7 separate regions of the Homo sapiens genome follow, and all the other regions are linked to region 5. Evidence: promoter capture Hi-C in 16 types of primary human blood cells and fetal thymus (Javierre and others, 2016). All regions are on one chromosome and are shown on one strand. The core of a region is centred on a gene start or on the middle of the fragment in contact, and the rest is flanking DNA. Distances in the headings are between cores, read along the strand shown.

The links. Contacts are between HindIII fragments. The CHiCAGO score rates a contact against its expected background, and 5 or more counts as called.
Region 1: a contact is called between a fragment that was not itself captured here and the fragment with the promoter of GCM1 in region 5, in 2 of 17 cell types (monocytes and naive B cells). The highest score is 5.3, in monocytes.
Region 2: a contact is called between a fragment that was not itself captured here and the fragment with the promoter of GCM1 in region 5, in 8 of 17 cell types (naive B cells, total B cells, neutrophils and 5 more). The highest score is 10.1, in naive B cells.
Region 3: a contact is called between a fragment that was not itself captured here and the fragment with the promoter of GCM1 in region 5, in 5 of 17 cell types (naive B cells, total B cells, M1 macrophages and 2 more). The highest score is 7.6, in naive B cells.
Region 4: a contact is called between a fragment that was not itself captured here and the fragment with the promoter of GCM1 in region 5, in 12 of 17 cell types (non-activated CD4 T cells, naive CD8 T cells, activated CD4 T cells and 9 more). The highest score is 12.0, in non-activated CD4 T cells.
Region 6: a contact is called between a fragment that was not itself captured here and the fragment with the promoter of GCM1 in region 5, in 1 of 17 cell types (neutrophils). The highest score is 5.7, in neutrophils.
Region 7: a contact is called between a fragment that was not itself captured here and the fragment with the promoter of GCM1 in region 5, in 17 of 17 cell types (total CD4 T cells, monocytes, neutrophils and 14 more). The highest score is 22.4, in total CD4 T cells.

Annotation. Positions count from the first base shown.
Region 1 is chr6:53,655,259-53,658,671 of GRCh38, forward strand. KLHL31 (kelch like family member 31) reads right to left here. Exons shown (of 3, transcript NM_001003760.5): 2 at 1-47. The coding sequence starts at 14. Among named protein-coding and RNA genes, the nearest start is that of KLHL31, 8.8 kb to the right of the region's middle. The HindIII fragment of the contact is 4,902 bases long and covers 1-3,413 here.
Region 2 is chr6:53,498,013-53,501,615 of GRCh38, forward strand. It overlaps GCLC (glutamate-cysteine ligase catalytic subunit), which reads right to left. Exons shown (of 16, transcript NM_001498.4): 13 at 2,420-2,501; 14 at 2,235-2,338; 15 at 2,033-2,153; 16 at 1-955. The coding sequence ends at 744. All of the region lies in intron 3 of GCLC-AS1 (GCLC antisense RNA 1), which reads left to right. Among named protein-coding and RNA genes, the nearest start is that of GCLC, 45 kb to the right of the region's middle. The HindIII fragment of the contact is 4,037 bases long and covers 163-3,603 here.
Region 3 is chr6:53,522,153-53,525,780 of GRCh38, forward strand. GCLC (glutamate-cysteine ligase catalytic subunit) reads right to left here. Exons shown (of 16, transcript NM_001498.4): 2 at 263-375. Among named protein-coding and RNA genes, the nearest start is that of GCLC, 21 kb to the right of the region's middle. The HindIII fragment of the contact is 1,081 bases long and covers 1,125-2,205 here.
Region 4 is chr6:53,461,070-53,464,487 of GRCh38, forward strand. The region is part of intron 2 of GCLC-AS1 (GCLC antisense RNA 1); the gene reads left to right. Among named protein-coding and RNA genes, the nearest start is that of GCLC-AS1, 31 kb to the left of the region's middle. The HindIII fragment of the contact is 2,648 bases long and covers 365-3,012 here.
Region 5 is chr6:53,146,767-53,150,268 of GRCh38, forward strand. It overlaps GCM1 (glial cells missing transcription factor 1), which reads right to left and starts at 2,075. Exons shown (of 6, transcript NM_003643.4): 1 at 1,988-2,075. It also overlaps the pseudogene LOC124901513. The HindIII fragment of the contact is 12,096 bases long and covers 617-3,502 here.
Region 6 is chr6:53,639,097-53,642,560 of GRCh38, forward strand. No RefSeq gene overlaps it. Among named protein-coding and RNA genes, the nearest start is that of LINC01564, 12 kb to the left of the region's middle. The HindIII fragment of the contact is 4,667 bases long and covers 1-3,464 here.
Region 7 is chr6:53,479,621-53,483,206 of GRCh38, forward strand. The region is part of intron 3 of GCLC-AS1 (GCLC antisense RNA 1); the gene reads left to right. Among named protein-coding and RNA genes, the nearest start is that of GCLC-AS1, 50 kb to the left of the region's middle. The HindIII fragment of the contact is 4,576 bases long and covers 1-3,586 here.

The DNA.
Region 1 (3,413 bases), core at 173-2,672, 510 kb after region 5:
TTTTTGGGTGCCATGTTGGCAAATACACTGTTACAGGCAAGAGCTTGCTAAAAAGAGAAAAAAAAAAACATGGTTTTGTTTTAATTGTGCTTTAGACTTTGAAATACTACATTGAGAAACTTTTTCAAAAGATAATAGTTTTCATGGCATAAAATAGATTAATTTTTAAAATAGATTTAAAGACATATTAAACTAGATGTACATTTTACAGACAGTTTACTTCAGCATGAAGCATTGAAGACAATTCTAGGAAGATTTATGTTATCAAATGAAATCTCTCCATAACTGTATTGCCAAGTAATTATATAGAAAAAGTGACCACATTTTCTTTCTTTCTTTTTTCTTTTTTTCTTTTTTTTTTTTTTTGAGACAGAGCCTCTATCTGTCGCTCAGGCTGGAGTGCAGTGGCATGATCTCAGCTCACTGCAACCTCTGCCTCCCGGGTTCAAGCTATTCTTCTGCCTCAGCCTCCCAAGTAGCTGGGACTACAGGTGTGCACCACCATGCCCAGGTAATTTTTGTATTTTTGGTAGAGATGGGTTTTTACCATGTTGGCCAGACTGGTCTCGAACTCCTGGCCTCAAGTGATCTGCCCACCTCAGCCTCCCAAAGTGTTGGGATTACAGATGTGAGCCACTATACCCAACCAACATTTTCTGATTGAGCTATATAGTAGAATAGTAGTTAAATATCATTTAAAGGGCTTAGTTTACTGTCATGAAAAAGTGAATTATAAACACTCTGAAGATTTTCCTCAGTAAAATACTAAAATTCAGGAATACATGTGAAATGTAGAAAATATTATGGAAAGATTATTTTATTTGCAGTAGCAATGAAACCTGTTATATTTTAAGAGATATATATACTTGACTCTAATTTAGTGAGACACATATAAGTACTATAGGATTTTGCCAGAGGATTTAACAGACAGGGACTCTACATTCCTGTATGAAGAGATGGATGTCATTTCAGTGAAATTTTAGTTGCTACCTCTATAAGATATTTTTTCTTTTTGGAACTTAATAAAATGATTTCAGAGTTTAACTGAGGGAGTGAGTATAAAAGAACATCTAGGAATTTTGTTTAAAAATAAAGGAATTCTTACCAGATGCAAAAAATTAGAGGAACTAAAAATTTTGGATCAGGAATAAAAAGAAATTCAGTGGAATAAGATAAGAGGTAGAAACCTATAAATTCAGAAGAACAAAATAAAGGGTAGAAACCCATATATGTATATGTGTGTATGTGTGTGTAGATATATACAGTATATATGTGTGTGCATATTTATATATTTATATAGTGTATGTGTGTGTAAGTATATATATTAAGATAAATGTGGCACTTAAAAATCAATGAGAAAGAACTTGTAATGGCAGCATTAGGTCAACTGATTTGCTACTCTATATATTCACTAAAATAACTTCCAGATGAATTAAATATCTAAGTAACATACACACATACACAAACTTATATAAGACCAGAACAAGCTAGGGATCTTGTTTTTGTTTTTGTTTTTATAACTTAGGTTAGGGAAGGCCCTTCTCAGCTGACACAAAATCCAGAAGCTATAAAAGAAAAGACTGAAATATCAGAATATAGAAAAATAAAAGCCATGAAACAAAACTGACTCCTTAAAAGGCAAGCAACAGACTGGGAAAACAAGTATTTTTAACTTTTTTTTTTTTTTTTTTTGAGATCGGGTCTCATTCTATCACCCAGGCTAGAGTGTAGTGGTGTGATTTTGGTTCACTGCAGCCTTGACTTCCAGGACTCAAGCAGTCCTCCCACCTCAGCCTCCTGAATAGCTGGGGCTACAGGTGCATGACACTATCTATGCCTGTCTACCTTTTTTGTATTTTTTGAAAAGAATGGGTTTCACCATGTTGCCCAGGCTGGTCTCAAACTCCTGGGCTCAAGCAATCCACCTGTCTTGGCCTCCCAAAGTGCTAGGATTACAGGCATGAGCCACCTTGCCCAGCCTAATCTGATGATTTCTTTGGTGCAAATACTCTCATCATGACTGATTTCAAGCTATCAACTGCTTAACAATTAGTTTACCAAATTTCTGAAAATTCATCAATCAGCTCTTGTGAGCCAGTGCAAGCCAGCTCCAACATAACACTATAGAAAACTTATATCAAACAGGTTTATGCTAATTATTCAACAATTTTCTCTTTTCACTAGTAGTAATTCATGTACACCTTTCTATAGCAGTACATGTATAAATCCACCTCATTCCTTATAATCGGTGCATAGTAATGCATAGTAAGGGTATATCATACATTGTTCAACTATTATCCTGTTGATAAGCATTTATGTATTTAGGTGGTTTACAATTTTTTGTTTTTGTTTTGTGTGTGTGTGTGTGTGTGTGTGTGTGTGTGTGTGTGTGTGTGTTTTAAATCCCATTGTAATTTCATCCTGAGGGGTAAAACTCAGCTTTGGCTCTCCTTGAAGGGTTTTCAATTTGATGGGTGGTGTATGTGTTAAAGTAATTTTGTAGCCCTTCTATTGTATTTGCTCCTGTTCCTATCCATGCAGAAGAAGAGTAGCAGGTAGGCAGAAAATAGAGATGGTCTAATTCTTTTCCAGTGCTTTTGTTTTCCTCTTTAAGCTCCAATTATCATATTCACATTTATATTTTTTACAAGGCTGTAGCACATACATCCTTCTTCTCATTCTTTTTTTGCAAACAATGCAAAATGCATCCTTACCTTGTGAAAATAGATTATGAACCCTCTATCATTTTAATGCTCAAATGCATTAGCTTATGTGTTGAGTGTCTCTTTGTTGGATTTTCTGGGAGAAACTTTTGAATATTTGTCAGCAAGCAGTTATCAGATATCCATCTTGGTGTGGGCAGCCCAGTGCTGGGAATGATGGAGCAGTACAAGATGTAATTTATATTAGAGACACAAGACATGGCAAATGCAAAATATCAATAAGGAGCTAGGTTAGCACAGCAGAGAAAATTTTGGGGGGAAAGTCCTGTCTGTGTTCCTGGAAGAACTCCTGTGGCCATTTTTTTTTATTCATGTAGATACAGGGCTTGCAAATGCTTATTGTTTTAGAGGAAATCCTGAGCCTGGGGAGTAATCTGAGTGCCTCAGACTGAAATTCTAAATACTCTGTTATCCATCATTAAGATGTTGTTTCATAAGTAGCATGTAAGGGTGATATTTAAAATATTAATTTCTGATAAAACAGGATATCTACTAACCAGAATGGATTCAGGCCACAGTGCTGGACCTGGGTCCCAGCAGTCCCCCTAAGGTACACTGTGTAATTCTTCAGTTACTAGATAATAGACCGAGGAGAGGGTGGAAGGGTGGGAGGGACTCAGAGAAGTTCAGGGCAGTAGCTATTTGACTATTTCAATTTGTTTGATATACATATAATATTTAGAGAGGGAT
Region 2 (3,603 bases), core at 931-3,430, 350 kb after region 5:
AAATTGTCCTTAATAATCACTACATGTGAATTCTGGGTAATAATCTCCTTTCTTTCTATAGAGTTGTGTTTAAACTTAATTCCTGCATCAGCAAATTTAAACAAAGAAAAGTTCCTTTGATAACAGCCATCAGAGTTCAATGGGTATTTATTCAGAGGGGAAAGCTTGGGGCAAGGTGACCAAGTGATTATTCCAATTGCAAAAGAAACATCATAGATAAGGTGCTAGAAACCCAAGATTACCCTTGAAGCACTTTCAATGGATTCAAGTGATTTAATGTAGACAACAAAGGAAATGACAAAGGAAAATTAACGAGAGAAAATGTTTTTAAAGAGAAAAATTTCAATAAATCAGGTCCCAGGTAGTCTTTAAAAGAACAAAAATTTACAGTAAACATTTTAACTCTGGAATGCAAGTATTGTACAATTACCAGTACATTTACAAAACTGCTTAGACAGTAGGTTGCTCCAGAGTAAGAATTTAAAAATGTACAAGCCAGTTCATGATGACTTTAGATATGTTATTAAAATACATTGTTAATCAAAAATACTTTACTATGTACATGTACACTGTATAAACTCTAGATTTACCTACCAAAGAAAGCCTTAATCAATTTCTGGCTCACTGGCCCAGAAAACAGTACAGTTCTATCATTTGGTCTTCATATTATACACACGGGCTGGCTGAGAGGCATGGTACTGTAGCCAGTTCGTCAATAATGCATTTTTCTTTCTGTAGAATGTCTAGTTGGATGAGTCAGTTTTACTTCCACTATATTTTACTTTCCTAAATGCTGATCCAAGTAACTCTGGGCATTCACATAATTCATTTGCAATTTGGTTACACTTCAAAATAAGGCTATAATTCATTTCATCAGTTATGACACTGTCTTGCTTGTAGTCAGGATGGTTTGCGATAAACTCCCTCATCCATCTGGCAACTGTCATTAGTTCTCCTGTGGGCGAGGGGGGAGCGAAAAAAAAATTAAAACCACGTAAGTTTTTTTTTTAATAAGTTGATATTTAGTGGTCAGCATAAACACAATTCTGGAGAGAAATCAATATGTCCTTTTAGTGTAGCTGCATGGCAGGGGGTGGGAACATCTTTCATAGCGTTTGAAGAACTCCTCCTGGGCAGGAATTCTAGGTTGCAGGCAGGCAATGAGAACACATACATCCAGTTTCTATGGTACCTGTTAGATGCCACCCATATGCTGACACTGCCAGCTCTTAAGGAACAGGAGCCAGCACATGTGTACAAGAACATGTGCCCTCCCATTTGGCCAGAGGGCTAGGACTACAAATGCCAGTGTCATGAGACTGCCTCAGAGGACTGTAGGGTCCTTGAGCGATCTTTGATCAAAGAGGTGGAGAGAATAAAGAACAGTAAGTAGAGTGAATGAAGTGGGAAATTGGCAGTATACCATTTGAGGGGTGAGGTAGGGTTCTACGGCTATCCTTTGTGACTCCAGAAAGTTTACAGAAGCCTTGAGTTAAATACAGATGCCATTACCATTATTGCTGTCACTTTATTAACAGCTGACAGCTCCCTTGTGCCAAGTACTGTGTTAGCAGTACTTGGTTACTGTACTGTATTGTAAATGTAACCTCCTCAAAACTAACAAAGAAAGGGGATTCTCAGGAGCCTCACTGTATGTACAAAGGCAGGCTAAAGAACTGTTCAGCTTATTTAACTTACAGAGTTCCTTAGCCCTATAAAAGGGCCCATGATGATGTAAGATCAACACAGTTGGACGTAAATGATAAGTAAGCAATCCAGATGCCATTTCATCATCTAAGATGCCAGTGATTTTCAGATGCACCCCTATTTTATGAACTGATAAGAAAAAAAGCACTACTAATCTAAATTATGAGTGTCAAAGATTATAAGGTGAATACAATTGCAGAAATATAAAAATGTGAAACTGTGCATGAATACAGCATTATTTTAAAAGACTACTTTAAGAAATTGAACATTCTAAGATTATACCATGCTGTCTATATTATGAGATTAAGAAAAATAGATATCATACCAGATGCTCTCTTCTTAATTAGCTTTAGGTAGTTCAGAATACTACATCTGGTGTCCACATCCACTTCCATGTTTTCAAGGTAAGAGTTCAGAATTGGGATCAGTCCAGGAAACACACCTTCCTACAAGAAGCAGGACACTTTATGAACTCCCTGCCGGGGGATGTGCACAGTGAGGGGTACTGTACAGGGCCACCCTCCTACCTTCCCATTGATGATGGTGTCTATGCTCATGAGGGTGTACTCCTCTGCAGCGAGCTCCGTGCTGTTCTGGGCCTTGCCACAACCATCCACCACTGCATTGCCACCTGCCGGAGAAGAGGGTCAGGGGAGCTTTAGCAGCTTGTTGCAGCATAAGCTGACATTAGAAATCTAAGATAATGTAATACCTTTGCAAATATCTTTCCTGAAATAAAACATTCCCTGCAAGACAGCATCTCTTTTCTGTGCTACCTTCATGTTCTCATCAACCTAAGGGAAAAAAAGAATCACGACTAAGTCAAAATATTCTTGATCAGACATACAAGTTGCAGCACCTTCCTCACCTTTGCAATTAGGACTCATTCCCTTAGGGATTCTACTTTCTGCTCAAATGCTTCCCAGTGGGAGGAACAGGCTTTTTATTTATGTGAGGACTGTATCACTCAATCATGGATTGGTATGTGATTTTTCAACCAATCAGGGAATTTTAAGAGAAACTTAAAACCCAAAACTTATATTCATGTGGAACGTCTGCATTTCAAAGCACCTCTGTGACTGAGCCTTGCAACAGATATACAGTGTTGGGAGGGCAGGTGGCTGGTTCCCTTTATATAGCAGTGTCTCACCAGGAGTCCCAGGGTAACGAAGGCAGAAGGCAGGACTAGAACCCAGTTCTTCTTCTGTTTTTTTGAGATGGAGTCTCGCTCTGTTGCCCAGGTTGGAGTGCAGTGGTGCAATCTCATCTCACCCCAACCTCTGTCTCCTGGGTTCAAGCAATTCTTTGTGCCTCAGCCTCCCAAGCAGCTGGGATTACAGGCCTGCACCACCACACTCGGCTAATTTTTTTGTATTTTTAGTAGAGACGGGGTTTCACCATGTTGGCCAGGCTGGTTTCGAACTCCTGACCTCAAGTGATCTGCCCGCTTCAGACTCCCAAAGTGCTGGGATTACAGGCGTGAGCCACCGCGCCCGGCCTATAACCCGGTTCTTCTAAGTTGAGTGCTCTTCCCCTGCTGCCTCGCCATTGGGGTTTTGCCTCCCCACTTTAGTGAGGAAAGGCAAAGACAGTTCATAGGTTGTCATATCTGGAATAAGGTTACAGCCCTCCCAAGGGCAGAAGATCACTGCTGTTTTACCCATCTGGTGCCTCCGGACATGTAGACTCACTCATGAAACCGAAAACTGTTTTATTTGTGAATTCTCTGTATCTCCAATGACTTTTTAAGACTCTCAAAGCAGAATTTAAAAAACGTTTTAGTAGTAATCCCTTATTTTCTATAATGAAATCTTATGTGGGACCTCAATATATACAACAGTGACCAGTTAGAGGGCCAGGCTGACATGGGACAGATGGTACATAAGCTCTCTTGAT
Region 3 (3,628 bases), core at 415-2,914, 370 kb after region 5:
TTTAATTCCAACACCTTAGGTAGGTATTGCTATGATCTTTACTTTACAGATGAGAGAACTGAGGCACAGAAAAGTTAAGTAACTTGCCCAAGGTTATTCAGCTATTGAGTAAAGGAACCATGATTTGAAACTATGGCAACCTGAAACCAGAGCCTGTACTCTTAACTGTTAGGCTATCCTGCCTCCAATAATTGAGAAAAAACTCTATATTCTAGAAGTTTTAGCAGTTTCAGAAACACTAAATCAGCACATGAGAGCTTACTTTGGGTTTGTCCTTTCCCCCTTCTCTTGCAGAGTTTCAAGAACTTTCTCCCCAGACAGGACCAACCGGACTTTTTTATTTTCATGATCAAAAGATACCAACATGTATTCCACCTATTGAAAATAAAGGTGAGAAAAATTAACATTCTTCCAGACTTGTTTTCAGTGTGGCCTCCAGAAGAAAAAGGCAGGGAAACGTGAAGTCTGTAAAGGATCCACAGTAACTCCAGACAGTCACATTTGTTTACAGTACAGCACATAAGTGTTCATATGCATAATATGGAAACCTGTAGAAAGGATCAGTCAGTAGTGCCACTTCCATCCCTTCTTTCCTCTGTCCTACTTAATATCCTATGGAAAGGTCGATACCCATTTTGACAAGCTGTACTTCAAAAAAAAGATGTGTTTTGAAGCAAAGATTCTGTAAATTGCTGTTGTAAAAAAGAAGCTGCATTTTAAAATTTATTTCCTCAGTTGGCTTACTATAAGTTTAAGAAAGAGGTTATCTGGACATTCCAGTCAAGGTAGATTACACTTACTTACTGGCAGAGTAATAAGTAAGGTAGATTACACTTTCATAATCCCACTACCAGTCCCACTTTTGGAGAGTTAAATCATAATCATAAATATACCGTGTGGAGAAGTTATTTGAGGGGTTTCAACAATTTAATTTTGGTTTATCTCAAGTAATTTAAGGCAACTTCTCCACTCTGAAACCATATAAAATTTGCAATGCAGGGTGCACTAGTACATTTATTAACAATACCTCGTGGAATTCTAGTAAAAATAAAGGACATAAACACAAAGTCAGACTTCTGGGCAGAATACAACTAGAACCTACTTTTGTTTTTCCTGAAGTTACAAGCTTTCAATCATGACAGTTGGCGTGAGCAGTGAAGATTATGAATCACTGTGTGTGATGGAAACAAAACATCCATTATCCATATATAAGTGAAAAGATACAGAATTATTCAGGCAAGCCCTTGAAAGTACCCTTTGCACATGGCACCAATACAATTACTACAGAGGTAGGAAACTGATTCCTCACAAGGCAAACCAGGCTACAGTGTATTTGGTTTGGCCTACAATAGTAGTTTAGAAAAAATAAAAAGGCAGGCAACCGTATATCCACTATTTCCCAGATATTTCACATGTAAATCTAGGTTCTCAGTCTTAAAACAATACCCAGAAGCCCAGCACGAAGCCTGTGACTGTGTGACTGGGCTGTTTGCTTTTCAGGGGTGCACACTGTCTGCAGTTTATTCCCTTATTTATGTGTATTTCCCTGGTCTTGGAAGGCATTTGAGTCAGCCGTCCTCATCACAGAAACATTAAGGGCTAAGTAATATGATTATAAAGAGGAAAAAAATGTTAGTAACTGTAGGAGATAGCCTAGCAGATTTAAACAACAACAAAATAAACTTTCAGTTAACGTTTATTAGCTCTCATCAGAATCTTTTAGCTCAAGAAATGGAAAAGTCTGCTTGATTTGGGTACACGAACCAGAAACATGAGATCTCCACCTGCAGAATCACTCAGTGTCAGCTGACTAAAAACTAGGCTGCAGAATCTGGAACTGTTCGCAACAACAATTACAGGTTGCAAGATACCATCTATAGATCTGTGACTCCGGAACAGCTAAAACCTGGAAACAGAAAACTTGGTTGAGTCTCAGAATGGGTATGTGAAAAGATACAAGTTAATCTTTAAATAAGCATAATGAGAAAGGATATGCTTTCATATATGAATCCTAATCTTCAAACCCAGCATGCAAAAGCAGGCTTGATTACCCATTTCACAGGTGGGCAAAGGGGCTCAGAGAGGTAAGCTACTCAAGGCCACAAGTGTCAGGCAGAGATTTGAAGCCAGCCCCGTCTGGCCTCAAGGCCCAGCACACCTTGCTGCTAGGGCTGTAGAGGGTGCCAATCTTGGTAAGTGAAGATAAGCTTTTTATAAAATTGTTATAACCTATATGAAGCAGGGAAAAGTTATAATACTGGATGAAACTATCTCAAATTGATTATGCTTTCATTTCATGGAAGGGGTCCTAACATTATATCATGGAAGCTGGGCTGTAACAATAGTTACAGTCATAGATTTTAACAGATGAACTGGCCCATCCCTCAGGCCCAGGACGGAACCCACTTACTCTGTGTAGCATTCCTAACTCTCCCAGCTAGGAGGAAATGTTCCTTCTTCAGTACTTCCTCCTTCACTCACTTAGACTCCAACTCATCTGCCTGGCATCTGCTACTGGAATTAAGTTATTTGCTTAACTAGAAAACATGCTTCCTAAAGAAAGTCTAAGAGATACTTCCTTGCTTACTGAGTGCATCATTTATTTTTTACCAAATGAGCAAGAACTTGTAGCAATTATATAAACTAAGTTGCAATAACTTTAATTGTTAGTTTCCTAACTTTGAAAAAAATTGAAATCCTTAGTTTTCAAATTCACTCTTAGCCCACAAGTTTAAAACATGGGTAGGGCAAAAGAACAAAAAGTTAAAGCTCATTCTGAGTTTTAAATATCAGTTTTAAATGCCAAACGGATGACATTTAAAATGTTAACAAACCAAACTCTCCTCAATTAAAGTATAATCACTTCATGATCTCATTAAGCAAATGAAACAGAAAAACATCAGAATATTTACCAAATGAGAAAGAAAACCAAATTTACTTTTCAATAGAATAATCATCAGTTGGAAGCCTCAAGAATTTCCTGACGGTTTTTCAAACTAAAATGTAATGCCTTCTGAAGTGCTCCTTCTCTGCAGTCACCTTGAACTTTCTGCACTAGTCCTCAAAGAGGTTCTTCAAACTTTTAGCTTTTTGTTAAACACCCCCACCACCTCAACACATTTATGTTTATTTCCGATTAGAGCCTGTCTATATGAGCATTCTGAATCGTAACTGCATATTTAAAAGTCAAACTAGAGCTGAAATGGGGTTTGACGCAATAACCGAGATGATTGGTGATAATAAAAAGTGATACATTAAGACAACGATTTTCCAATATAAAACATCTAAAGCCCCAATAAATTATTTTATGATTTCTGGATTGTATCCCCATTCTAAACTTCATTTTTGAATCCAAAGGATAAGAGGAACAACATACAAAAGAAAATAATAAAACAGATGCCTTTCTGTATCACAACACTGATTCCAAGGATAAAACTGTATCAGCTTACTAACTTTGAATAGCATCTAGGCTGTAAACCCAGAATTGCAGCAACATCAAATATATTTATGTACTTTACACATATATACAACTCCAAAAGCATACATACCCAAAGAGCATTATAAATGGGTTGCAGAGTGACCAATTTAAACTTGTGCAATTAACATATCATCTTGGAAGTAGGGGAAA
Region 4 (3,418 bases), core at 439-2,938, 310 kb after region 5:
CTAATTGGGAAATATGTTGCAAAAGGCAAAGATGGGGAAATACACTATATTCATTTGAAGTATGCTGGGGGGGTAGACTATGAAAGTGAATGCAATTTTTTGACACTCTCCTGAGAGAACTGCCACAACTTTCATTACTAGTATTCACTTCTTCCACCATGGGATTGTCACTCATTAGAGACATGTAGTTGCTGTGCCCCTTAAGGAAGCCCCTTATGGCTGAAAGCAGGTGGTTCCAAAGCCTGTCCTACACTTGCTTCTCCCTCACATCTTATGAGCCAGACCACTAGATCCCACAGAAGAAAAGGATCAGGGAGGTAATTTTTCTACAGAAAAGCACTGGATTCGCATAAGTGATATATCAAGCTTCTAATGTCCTTTTTATCTTTTATTTGAATAATCATTTGTATAACTTTCCCATCTGTGTGTACATTTTAAACAAATGAAGCAGCTTCCTCTCACTAACATGTTTTCTCTTCCTTAAAATGACATCCTCTTCTAATTTACTCAACCCTAAAAACCCCCTCTTCAAATACATTTTCTCTGTTGGTTTCATGCATCTCAGAGAAAGGAAAAAAGGGTTCATTTTAGTAAATAAGCCCTGGCTTTAAAAATGCTCTTACCATTTCACACTCCAGAAAATAAGGAGATGAACACACACACACACACACACACAAACTAATTAGAATTAACTAAATTTTATAATATATTAAGTAATAAAATTACAATGCAAAACCATTGCAGCGTCCTTTTGATTGCTCTGAACTCCACCCCTCCCTGTCAAACAATAGAAAGGGGAAAGTGCTTTAAACTCTCACTAGGGTGGGGCTGCTGCCTGCCGCCTGCTCTCCGAACTGTCTTGCAGCTGGAGAAGAGCAGCCAAAGCTCCTGCAGACTTCATGTTGGAACTTCACACATTCATTCCAACAAAGAACACAGCACGTAGCAGGAGAACATACTGCGCTTATTCTTCTTAGTATAAGGGCAGATAACCTCTCTATTTTTATCTTTACCTTCATTGAAACAAAAACAAGTAAATGGAAGAGCAGACGCCTCTTCATAAAGCTAGTCATTGTCCTATTCCTCTGTTCTATTCACTCTCAAACGATTCCATTGGGGACCCCTGAGCTGTGAAGAAGGACAGGGCCCTGCCTCCACTTTTTCATCTTTCTCCTTAACTCGGGGAAGTCTGGCTTTTACTTCCAACCGCTCAACTGACACTGTCTTTCAAAGTTTACCAATATCTAGGGTGGCCAAATGGGGATGCTTCTGAGGGTGAAAAAAAGATGCTACTAATAATTATCCTGGGACAACAGGCGTAAATGCAAACAGTCTCATCAAGAACCTCCCATCTGTATCCAAACCTCTCTTCCCAGCATCTTTCTGGAGCTTCCACAGCATTTAACACGGTCCCCATCCCTGCTTTTTGGAATCTTTGTTTCCACTAATCTTTAACACTTCAACTGTCCTTCTTTACTCGAAGGCCAGCTCAGAGCTTCTTTGCTGGTTCCTATCTCCTCCATTGATTGAAAAAGTTCCCAGATTGATTGCTTGGTTCTCCTGTTTGTCTCTAGATTTCTCCTCACAGACCTGCATTCTCATGACTTCAGCTCTCCCTGCATCATGACTCCCAAGTCATTTCAAAGTGAAATTATTGTCCAGGTCGGTGGCTTATGCCTGTAATCCCAGAACTTTGGGAGGCTGAGGCCAGCAGATCACTTGAGCTCAGGAGTTTGAGACCAGCCTGGGCAGCATAGCCAGAACTTGTCTCTGGTAAAACAAACAAACAAAGAAATAAACAAAAACGAAATTATTAGGAACTCTAAGACAGCAACAGCAGATTATTAAATCCCAAACCTGGGCCTCCTTCTGATCACAGAGCCCTGCACCTGGCCACATGCCCATGTAACCGACTCTGCCATTAGTTAAATGACTAAATAAGTATATAGTACATTCTTTCAAAAAGCAGTAAAAGGAAATAAGAAAATGGCATAAAAGAGAGAGAAAGTAGGCCAGACATAGTGGCTCACACCTGTAATCCCAGCACTTTGGGAGGCCAAGGCAGGCAGATCACGAGGTCAGGAGTTCGAGACCAGCCTGGCCAACATAGTGAAACCCCATCTCTACTAAAAACACACACAAAAAAATTAGCCAAGTGTGGTGGCACATGCCTATAGTCCCAGCTATTCTGGAGGCTGAGGTGGGAGGATCGCTTGAACCCAGGAGGCAAAGGTTGCAGTGAGCCGAGATCGCGCCATTGCACTCCAGCCTGGGTGACAGAGTGAGACTCTGTCTCAAAAACAATAAAAATAAAAATAAAAAAATAAAAAGGGAGAAAGAGAAAGGAGTAGGGTGAAGCAAAGGGGTTTCAGGGTCTGGGATTACAGAGGGGAGGGGTCTTGAAAGGAAGAGTCCTTGAAAAGACTGGTTGGTGGGAAAAGGCCTAAGGCAGGCGCTCAGGTAAAGGGTCTAATCTCAGAGAAGAGCCACACTTCTTCACGAAGGCTAGAGAATGGAGACAATGAGCATAGAAGCAGCATGGTGAGAGCTACGAGACTTCATCATGGATAGCAGAGGGATATCAGCAGAAGCATTTGTTGTTTTTTGTTTTTTTTTGTTTTTGTTTTCGTTTTTTGAGACCAACTCTCACTCTGTTGCCCAGGCTGGAGTGCAGTGGTGTGATCTCAGCTCACTGCATCCTCTGCCTCCTGGGTTCAAGCGATTCTCCTGCCTCAGCCTCCTGAGTAGCTGGAACTATAGGCACGCACCACCACGCCCGGCTAATTTTTGTATTTTTAGTAGAGATAGGGTTTCACCATGTTGGCAGGCTGTTATTGAACTCCCAACCTCAAATGGTCCTCCCACTTTGGCCTCCCAAAGTGCTAGAATTATAGGCGCGAGCCACCACGCCAGGCCTGAAGTATTTAAGACACAATGAGATGTTGCTTCGTCTCTTTATCTAATTACTGTGGTGCACAATAAAGTGAATCAGACCTGTCAGTGTCTCCAGAAAGCTTACAGTTCCAGAAGAGACAAAACACCAATATGAAATTTAGGACAAAATATGATGAGTGAGTTGGAAAACCTCATTTAGTTAAACTAAGCTTCCTAGAAATATCTTCCTGCTAAATATTTGTTAACTTGGCTTAATACAGAAGGAAAACACAAAATAATATAAATAGCATGGTAGAAATGACATGGTACATTGCATTAGGCATTATAAGTAATCTAGAGATGAATTAAAGTATATAGGAGGATGTGCAAAGCTTATATGCAAATACTACACCATTTTATACCAGGGACTTGAACATCTGTGGATTTTGGTATCTGCAGATGATCCTGGAGCCAATCCCCAATGAATACTGAGGGACAACTCTGTATACACACATACAAATACATGCACATGTGCATATATACA
Region 5 (3,502 bases), core at 825-3,324:
AGCAGCCTGTAATCCCAATACTTTGGGAGGCCAAGACACATGTATCACTTAAGTCTATGAGTTCAAGACCAGCCTGAGAAACATGCAGAAACCGTGTTTATACAAGAAGTACAAATCACTAGCTGGGCATGGTGGTGCACACCTGTAGTCCCAGCTACTTTGGGAGGCTGAGGTGGAGGATTACCCGAGCCCAGGAGGTTGAGGCTGCAGTGAGCCAAGATTGTGTCACTGCATGCCAGCCTGGGTGACAGAGTGAGACCTTGTCTCAAAAAATAAATAAATGAATGAATGAATAAATAAATAAATGAATGAATAAATAAAAGTTTGTTCAAATGGCATTTCTTCCCTCACGAGAAATAGTGCTCTAATTTCTAACTATAATTGGTTAAAGGAGGTTTACCAAGAAAAAAAGAAAGAAAATTTGAAGTGTTCTACCCTGAGGAAAAAAATGAATAATTTTGCAGATGAAAGCTACTTGTTAGTACGATATGAAGTGAAACATGTTCACATGTATAACATTTCATTTATTGGTACTCTTATAAAAACAAGAGACATAATGATGTTATGTAGAGCTATTTAATAGCGAACTCAAACTATAAGGTAGATTAATAGTCTAAGCTTTGGCGAGACCCATGAACTCTTTTCTTTAGTTTTTATTGTTTTTTTTTTTTTTTTTTTTTTAATGGAGTCTTACTCTTATCACCCAGGCTGGAGTGCAGTGGCGCAATCTCAGCTCACCATAGCCTCCACCTCTGGGGCTCCAGTGATTCTTTTACCTCAGCCTCCCAAGTAGCTGGGATTACAGGCACGCACCACCACACCCAGCTAATTTTTGTATTTTCAGTAGAGATGGGGTTTCACCATGTTGACCAGGCCGGTCTTGAACTCCTTTCCTCAGGTGATCCATACGTCTCTGTCTCCCAAAGTGCTGGGATTACAGGCATGAGCCACTGTGCCCGGCCTGTTCTTTAGTTATTTAGTGTTATATAATCCTAATACTTGTCAATCACTGAACTCTACCAAGGGAAAGTGTATGTATATAAAAGACCGTTGACCTGAACATAAGAATGAAGTTCCTTTTTTCTTTTTTGTGTGTGCTCTAGATGTCCAGAGAAATTTCTCTAGTAACAAACTATAGAAATGATCCCTGAAAGTATAGTCTTTATAAATAAAGTTCTTGACCATTAAATGACAAGCTAATCAGAGTCTCTTCCTGTCTGTTCCACATACCCATACTGAGCTACAACCTAGTGGTTGCAGAGCACGAAGTTTCTGTTCCCCAACTGAATGTTGATTTTCAAGACTAAATCCTCATGGATTTTAAGTAAAATTCTATGTTTAGGAAAGAAACATTGTGTTACTGAAGAAATGATGCCGCAAATTGACTCTAATTCAAAGGACTTAAATAACAGGTATAGAAGATGCAGATACCAAGCAGCAGTTCCGTGTACTTACCCTGAACAGTAACGATATTGTCTCTGATGGTGCAAATTTTGTTATAACTAATTGGAATAGATCTACTTTTTAAAAACCTTGGCAAATAAGATTCATATTTTCAAAAATCAAAAACATTGTTATAAAGCCTAGGCAATATAGACATAATTATTTTGTTTTTAAATTAAGGGAAGAATAATAAAGAAAATTTTATTACAGAACAACTATGTTACATTTTAGATTTTTCTCTCGATATTAACATTTGCTAAGCGAATGAGCATTAATTTAATATTTCCCTAAAAGTTAAGAACAAAACATAGAAAAGAAGAAAAAACCATTTTACAGCCCTTAAGTAAACTCTGTTTTCCTCTTCTAGGATTGAAAAACTACACTTGTCAAGACTCCTTTTTTTAAAGCAACTTGCGCAAAGTATATTCAATTTTCATCATTTCTACAGAAAAATGAACTAGAACAAATGAAACCCTGTAGGAATAGAGTGGTCGTTGCCACATCCCTTACATTTGCCTCTCCACGGGATTTCTGGCTTTCTTACCTTCTAACTTCTTACGGAGAAGCAGACAGCACTGTGTCGTGAAAATCTTACTGCTGGTTCAAGTCCCAGCAGGCTCTGGTCATTTTCTGAGCAGACGCTGTTCCCTATTCCAGGTCAGGGTACACTATGCTAATGAGTTCTGGCAATGGTCCAATCAAAATCTAGATGCTCTAGGCTCTGGATAGGTAAGAGCAGCCTGGGAGTCACTTAACCAGCCTGATTCTTCCCAGAATGCCAGCAATGTGATGAATATTCTATGATGTGTCTCTGAACTTCCCCCTCCCTTTATGTTATGAGGACATTTGAACTAAAATGGACATTGAAAAGAACCTCATAAGGAAGTACAGATGTTTTTCTTCTTGTGATGTTACAGGTTGGGCCCCAGGCAGACGATTCACAGTAGGTCCTAATTCTCCCACTATTTACCCGGCAGGTAATAGTTCTCTCTCATGTGTGCAAGAGAGAGAAGACAGACAGACAGAGATAGAGAGATATTATGGTGAGGAAATTTACTGGAATAGACAGTGGATAGCCAACATCCTCTATACCAGAAATACTGAAATGCTATCTTAACCCTAGCAATAATGTCCCACTAATTCTAAGTGTTCTGATCCCCTAAAAATATACAATTCTTGGCCGGGCGTGGTGGCTCACACCTGTAATCCTAGCACTTTGGGAGGCCGATGTGGGCGGATCACAAGGTTGGGAGTTCAAAACCAGCCTGGCCAAGATGGTGAAACCCCGTCTCTACTAGAAATACAAAAATTAGCCAGGTGTGGTGGCGAGCGCCTGTAATCCCAGCTATTTGGGAGACTGAGGCAGAGAATTGCTTGAACCCGGGAAGCGGAGGTTGCGTGAGCTGAGATTGCGTCACTGCAGTCAAGCCTGGGTGACAGAGCGAGGCTCCATCTCAAAAAAACAAAAACAAAACAAAACAAAACAACAAAAAAAAACGAACAAACAAAAACCAATTATTTCTTCTAGAGATACCCTCAGTGCTATTCTTCCTTTTAGAGACATCCGCAGTACAGCCTAAATCAGTTCAGTTCATATGTTTTGTTCTAGGTAGTCTGCCAGGCCTTGGCAACACAAGAGAGAATGAAAGCCATTAAGAAGTTCATTCTAGTAGAAAAGATGATTAAAGCTACTAAATAAGGCCGATTTAATTTGATGTATAGAATAAAAGTAATATAAATGAGAAGGCTATTAAGCTGGAGGGAGGAGAACCAAAGGAAACCCACCAAAATAATGCTCGATGAGCCTTTTGAAGGACAAATAGATATTTATCAAGGCGTGAAGGACTGGAAGAGGGTGTTTCGGGGAGTGACAATATCCTGGACAACATGACGAGGGATCAGTACCTGTCAGGAAGGTCCAGACTTTCAAGGATGAGGCTTAGGAGGCAGAGATGAGAAGGCGAGAAGGCAAAAGGCTTGGAAAGCCTCATAGTTGCATTCGGCGGCCCCTAATAGATTTCTCATTCGTCTTTCAGTTCATGAACAAATTCCTTTCCTG
Region 6 (3,464 bases), core at 265-2,764, 490 kb after region 5:
AAATGTGCCATGGGACTCTAAGGAATCACATAGTTTTATTACTCTGATTAATTTCCTATTTTAATGCATAGTAGTAATTAATATTGGCCACAGACAACTCAAGATAGAAATGTCATGACCTAGATGAATGTGTAGAATACCCTGGTGTTTTCAGAGTGTTTTCACCTACATTATCTAGTTTAATCTTTACAACTGTCCTATGAAATAAGCAGGGTGGTTATGATTCATTGTTATGTTTACAAATGTGGAAACTGAGGCCCAAACCATTTGTTTAGCATATGTTGGATCTAGGTACAAAATTCCAGTCTTCCAATTCCCAGTTTAAACTGCTTTCCAAAGGCCACAGAAGAGGCAATTAGGTCATAGCACTTGCTAAATTTCTCGGCAAAATTCGAGAGGCAAGGGTATAGACTTTATTATACTGCTTTCTGAACACAGTACACAATCCGCAATAATCCCGAATTTCTAAATCTGTAAAAAAAAAATCGACTCAGAATTTTTCCCTTGCTTTAACTCCTCCAGAGAGAATCTTTCTGCAGCAATCCCATGAGGCTCTGTGCATATCCCTGTAATTACAGGTATTACATCATAGAGCAATAATTTGTTTACATGTCTGTTTCCCCAGCCTCTCCTTCTTCACTTCCCCCTACTCCCAGAGACAGTGAGAAAAGGTCTATTCATCTTTGGAACTCCAGCATCTCACAGGTTGCTAGACATAACAAAAGTTCAAGAAATTTATCTATCTATCTATCTATCTATCTATCTATCTATCTATCTATCTATCTAGACTCCTGTACATCCACAGCCACAGAAGTTTGCCTGCATTATCTCTACTTAAAAGTCATTATGTTTCTTTTAAGTTGAACTCCTGTTATTTAATTGATGCTACATTTGTTGTTGTTGAGGCTTGATAGTATTATAATTTCTAAGGTAGTGTTTTTAAAATCTAGGTAATACAATTATAGAATAGTTTTCCATATATATGATATATATGGAAAATATTTTATTTCACTGCATAAAACAAAACCACTTAAACAGCAAAGAATACACTAAATGAAGTAACAAAGGTTAAAAATAAATTACAAAATAAAAAACAAATGATTGCAAAATGTCAACTCCCCTAAATTAATATATGCATTTAAATCTAGCCTACTAAAAATATTACAAAGTTTAGTTGACAGTGTTGTTATTGTTTAAGATTTTAAAAAATGTATATATGTGCATTGTTTTTAAAAACAATCAAAATGTATTGAAGAAAATATTAATTTATCGTATTGATTTCTAATAACAGCTCATAGAATATAGAAATGGTCTTGATTCTTTCAAACGTCTCCACCTGGTCATGTCAAAGTTCAATGATCATTTAAATAATGATGGACTTTCTATTTCACTAAAGATACAAATTTTTTTTTTTTTTTGAGACAAGGTCTCACGGGTTGCCCAGGCTGGAGTGTAATTGTGCAATCAGGACTCACTGTAGTCTTGGCTTCATAGGTTCAGGTGATTCACCCACCTCAGCCTCCCAAGTAGCTGGGACTACAGGCATGCACCACCATGCCTGGCTAATTTTTTGTAGAGACAGGGTTTTGCTATGTTGCTCAGGCTAGTCTTGAACTCCTGGACTCAAGTGATCCTCCACCTCAGCCTCCCAGAGTGCTGGGTTTATAGGCATGGGCCACTATGCCTGGCTAAAAATACAATATTTATGTGATCTAATTCTGTAGGGTCCACTGAAGTAGAAGTAATGTATTTATAAAAATAGTATTTAAAGCATTATATTTTAAAAATACTATCTTAAAAATTATAACTTTATCAAACCTCAATAAGAGGAAATATAGCATCAATTAAATGATAGCAGTCCAACTAAAAAGAGATAAAACAACTTTTAAGGAGAGAGAACACAGGCAAATCTGTGGTGGTGGATATGCAAAAGTTCATTGCTTTGAAAATGGAATCAAACTGCATGTGACCCTAAATTCCCGAGTACGGTTGAAGAGCAGGGACATGCGTGTTCTACTGCTGCTAGACAAATCACCACAGTTTAGTGTATTATAGCAGCACATGTTTATTATCTCATAGCTCTGTAGGTCAGAAGTCTGGGTTGGCTTGACTGGTTTCTCTGCTTCAGGTTTCACCAGGCTATAATCTGTGTTGACAGCATGGGTTATAGGGAGATTCACTCAAATTGTGGGCACAATCCAGTTTCTTGTAGTTGTAGGACTGAGGTATCCATTTCCTTGCTGGCTGTCACCTGGGAACTTCTATTAGCTTTGAGAGGCCTCTTTTTAGCTTTGTATCTGGGCAACTGTATCTCAGAGCCAGTGATTGCACATCAAATCCATCTCACACTTGAAAGCTCTTAGATTTCCTCTTCTGCTGCACGTCTGACTTTAGCTGGAAAAACTTCTCTGCTTTTAAGGGCTCAAGTGATTAGACTGGCCCCATCTGGTTAATCCAGGATAATCTCTGCACCTTGAGATCCACAACCTTAATTACAAAAAGTCCCTCTTGCCATGTAGAATAACATATGCACAGGACCCAGAGAATAGGGTATTGGACCTGTGGGGAAGGGGTGGCATTAATTGGCCTACTAGGAGGCTACTTGGGAAACCTGGATTTAAACTCTGCTTTAGCCAATTTTAGTCTTTCTATTTTCTTAGCTCCTTGAGCTTCTTTCTTCTTAGTCAAGAGAGCTGATAAAAAGAAGTTGTTCCTTGCAATTCTTTCTTCAAGTCTTTATTCATCTTCCTGTAGGAGTTGTGTTTTCCATTTATATTGGTGATGTATTCCTATGTTTCAAAAAGTTTATTCTCTATTTCTAAGAGGTAAACTATCTCCTAAATTGATTTTCTGCCAAGTTTCATGACATATTCTCTGTGTGTGTGTGTGTGTGTGTGTGTGTGTGTGTGTGTGTGTGTGTGACAGAATCTTGTTCTGTCACTCAGGCTGGAGTGCCATGGTGCCATCTCCGCTCACCGCAACCTCCACCTCCTGGGTTCAAGTGATTCTCTTGCCTCGGCCTTCTGAGTAGCTGGGATTACAGGCACACGCCACCACACCTGGCTAATTTTTGTATTTTTAGTCAAGACAGAGTTTCACCATGTTGGCCAGGCTGGTCTTGAACTCCTGACCTCAAGTGATCCGCCCGCCTTGACCTCCCGAAGTGCTGGGATTACAGGTGTGAGCCACTGAGCCCGGCCCACCTGAGGCATTTGAATCTCACCTTTAAGCTCTGAATTTTCAGACTACATGTTCAGTTTGGTGACTTTTTATTAGATCTGTAAGCTCTTCATTTTATTTTCTTCACATAATTTAAAAATAACCTTGTTTTTCTCCTTCAAGCCTGTTAGAGGAAACATTTATGTTAGCAGCATCAGTGAGTCTCTTCACACTGAGTCCTGGTTGATAGTCTATGTGGTTTCCATTTTCTGATTCACTGTCTTTGTCTCATTCCAAGTTGCTGT
Region 7 (3,586 bases), core at 754-3,253, 330 kb after region 5:
CCTCAGCCTCCTGAGTAGCTGGGATTACAGGCACTCGCCACCACATCCAGCTAATTTTTGTATTTTTAGTAGAGACGGGGTTTCACCACGTTGGCCAGGCTGGTCTTGAACTCCTGACCTCAAGTGATCCTCCTGCTTCGACCTCTCAAAGTGCTGGGATTACAGGCATGAGCCATCGTGCCCGGCTTAGCTTTCCATTTTCTTGATGATGTTTTGCTATGAGTTTTATATCAACTTAAAGTTTACAGTAGTCTTTTGAATTTTTTTTAAGGATAATTTTTTAAAACTGCACTCAGCTAGAAAAATAGCTAGCATTTATTGAGTGCTTACTATTCTATAAGCACTATCTTAAATGCTTGACTTGTACTAGTTCTTTTATCCTCACAACTCTGTAAGTGCTATTATTACCATCCCTACTTTGCATACGAAGAAACTAAGGCATAAGCAGGTTAGGTAACTTCCCCAAGGTCACATAGTTAAAGTCAAGCAATCAGATGCCAGAGACCTTGTTCCTTGAGCTCTATGTTCTACTGCCTCCTGTCCTTATTTGTGCCTTTTTCTCTCTATTCATGATCAATCATTTTATATGTTTATCAGGGAAAATGACTAAGAAGCAGGGAGTCTTTTTTTACTATACTTTAAGTTCTGGGGTACATGTGCAGAACGTGCAGGTTTGTTACATAGGTATACACGTGCCATGGTAGTTTGCTGCACCCATCAACCCATCACCTACATTAGGTATTTCTCCTAATACTATCCCTCCCCTGGTCCGCCCAACCCCTGACAGGCCCCAGTGTGTGATGTTCCCCTCCCTGTGTCCATGTATTCTCATTGTTCAGCTCCCACTTATGAGTGAGAACATGTGGTGTTTGGTTTTCTGTTCTTGTGTTAGTTTGCTGAGAATGATGGTTTCCAGCTTTATCCATGTCCCTGCAAAGGACATGAACTCATCCTTTTTATGGTTGCATAGTATTCCATGGTGTATATGTGCCACATTTTCTTTATCCAGTCTATCGTTGATGGGCATTTGGGTTTGTTCCATGTCTTTGCTATTGTGAATAGTGCCGCAATAAACATGTGTGCATGTGTCTTTATAGTAGAATGATTTATAATCCTTGGGGTATATACCCAGTAATGGGATCGCTGGGTCAAATGGTATTTCTCGTTCTAGATCCTTGAGGAATCGCCACACTGTCTTCCACATGGTTGAACTAATTTACACCCCCACCAACAGTGTAAAAGCAGTCCTATTTCTCCATATCCTCTCCAGCATCTGTGGTGTCCTGACTTTAATGATCACCATTCTAACTGGCGTGAGATGGTATCTCATTGTGGTTTTGATTTGCATTTCTCTAATGACCAGTGATGATGAGCTTTTTTTCATATGTTCGTTGGCTGCATAAATGTCTTCTTTTGAGAAGTGTCTGTTCATATCCTTTGCACACTTTTTGATGGGGTTTTTTTCTTGTAAATTTGTTTCAGTTCTTTGTAGATTCTAGATACTAGCCCTTTGTCAAGTGAGTAGGTTGCAAAAATTTTCTCCCATTCTGTAGGTTGCCTGTTCACTGTGATGATAGTTTCTTTTGCTGTGCAGAAGCTCTTTAGTTTAATTAGATCTCATTTATCAATTTTGGCTTTTGTTGCCGTTGCTTTTGGTGTTTTAGTCATGAAGTCTTTGCCCATGCCTATGTCCTGAATGGTATTGCCTAGGTTTTCTTCCAGGGTTTTTATGGTTTTAGGTCTTACATTTAAGTCTTTAATCTATCTTGAATTAATTTTTGTATAAAGTGTAAGGAAGGGGTCCAGTTTCAGTTTTAAGAAGCAGGGAGTCTTTGCAAGCTCAAGGTAGGATCTTTGTCAAACAGGAAATATGGTATTATGCAGCAGTGAAACGAGGTCAGTTCTGAGTCCTCAGTCTAGGTTACAGGAACAAAGTTAAGAGTTTGTTCTTATGAGGAATAGAACTGAGTATGTCTCTAGGTCAAGAAAAACACTGTGGCAAAAATGAGAACATTGAGCAACTAATTCAAAATTTCATATGGAACAGTTTCAATAACCATCGGGTAAATGACTTCTTATGGTGAGTGTGCTCAGAAGTGCTCACTAATACTGGTTGATTGAGAGTGATATTTACAATACCAAACAGTCATGTCATTAATAGTATAACAACTTTTTCTTACCAGGGGCTTTTTTGAGCCAGTAAAGGAGAGGATCTTCCCTAGGATTTTTGTTTGTTTTTAAGACTAGCAATGTGCTAACTGCATCCCTTCTACATCCATGAAAGAGAATGCACCCTAGGCTCTCTAGACCAAACTCAGGCATGCTTTACTTGTGGCGTGCATTCAAAAGGAGGAGAACATGGTGAAAATGTCTTGAACATCATTCTAGTAACCATAGTGATACCAAAGCAAACCTGGATCCTTATCTCATATCTTGTTTATTTTTCAGAAAGAATTTATTTACACATAGACCTTTAATTTTGAAAAAGATGCCCCTCTTTGTTATTTGATTGTGTAAGTGATGTTTTGTTGGCCTTGCTTCACAGCAAGTCTCTGTAATACCTCGGTATGTTGCCAGTGGCTGTCTCTGTCCTCACAAACAAATGTTCCATACTTGTCTGACCTGGGCAGCCAGGCTATGGGGTCCAAGGAAGGATAGAACACCTGGAAAGTGACAGCAATGTTTTTGGGGTCAGAACTCTCAAAGTGGAAAAGTTATTCAAGATCCAGCTGCAGAATGAATGAGCACGTTCTCTGCTTTTAAAAAAAAGTTTTATTTTTTAAAAAGAAGTAATAAAGCTGGGCATGGTGGTGCTCTCCTGTAGTCCCAGTTGCTCAGGAGGCTGAGATGGGAGGATTGCTTAAGCCCAGGAGTTTGAGACTAGCCTAAGCAATACAGTGAGACTCCATCTCTAAAAAAACAAAACAAAACAAAAAACAAAAACAAAAAAAGAAAGAAAGAAAAGAAAAAGGAGTAATAAAGAGAGATATTGGTGCCTCACTGCTCTAAAGGGCTTTGAGGAAACAGTTCTAGGCTCTCCACAGAATTTGGAAATGCATCCTGGGGGGGTGGACTGTGAAAAACATCTGAGACATAAGCTCTATGTGACACTTGGTGGGTACTCATGAACATTCAGGGTTCTTGAGGGCCTGAACTGCTTGTTTTGGTAGCCTTGCATTTTCAGGGCAACAATCCCTGGCATCGAGTGGACCCTCAAGAAATATTTGTTAGCTGCCAGATGCAACTTTCCGCTGTATTGTCAACACTTTTTCAAAACACGTCACTGAGGATTTCAGTAACTTCCCAGCAGCTACAAGGAATCTTGGGAACCTTTTCTCTAGGCAGAGCAGGCTATTTAATACCCCATTTGTAATAGGGTGATTTAAAGATACTTTGAAAGCCAATCTAAGAAAAGACATTTCTCCGATGGTGCCTGAAGTTCGATGCATAGAGGTTTTTCTTTCTGTTACCCTCACTAAGTTCTTTGAAAATGCCTACAGAAGGGGTGTTCATATCAGGCCCTTGTGCTTCACGAGAATAAGTTGATCGGGTAAAAATTTTCTCCATAAGAGAGACCACTATTGGG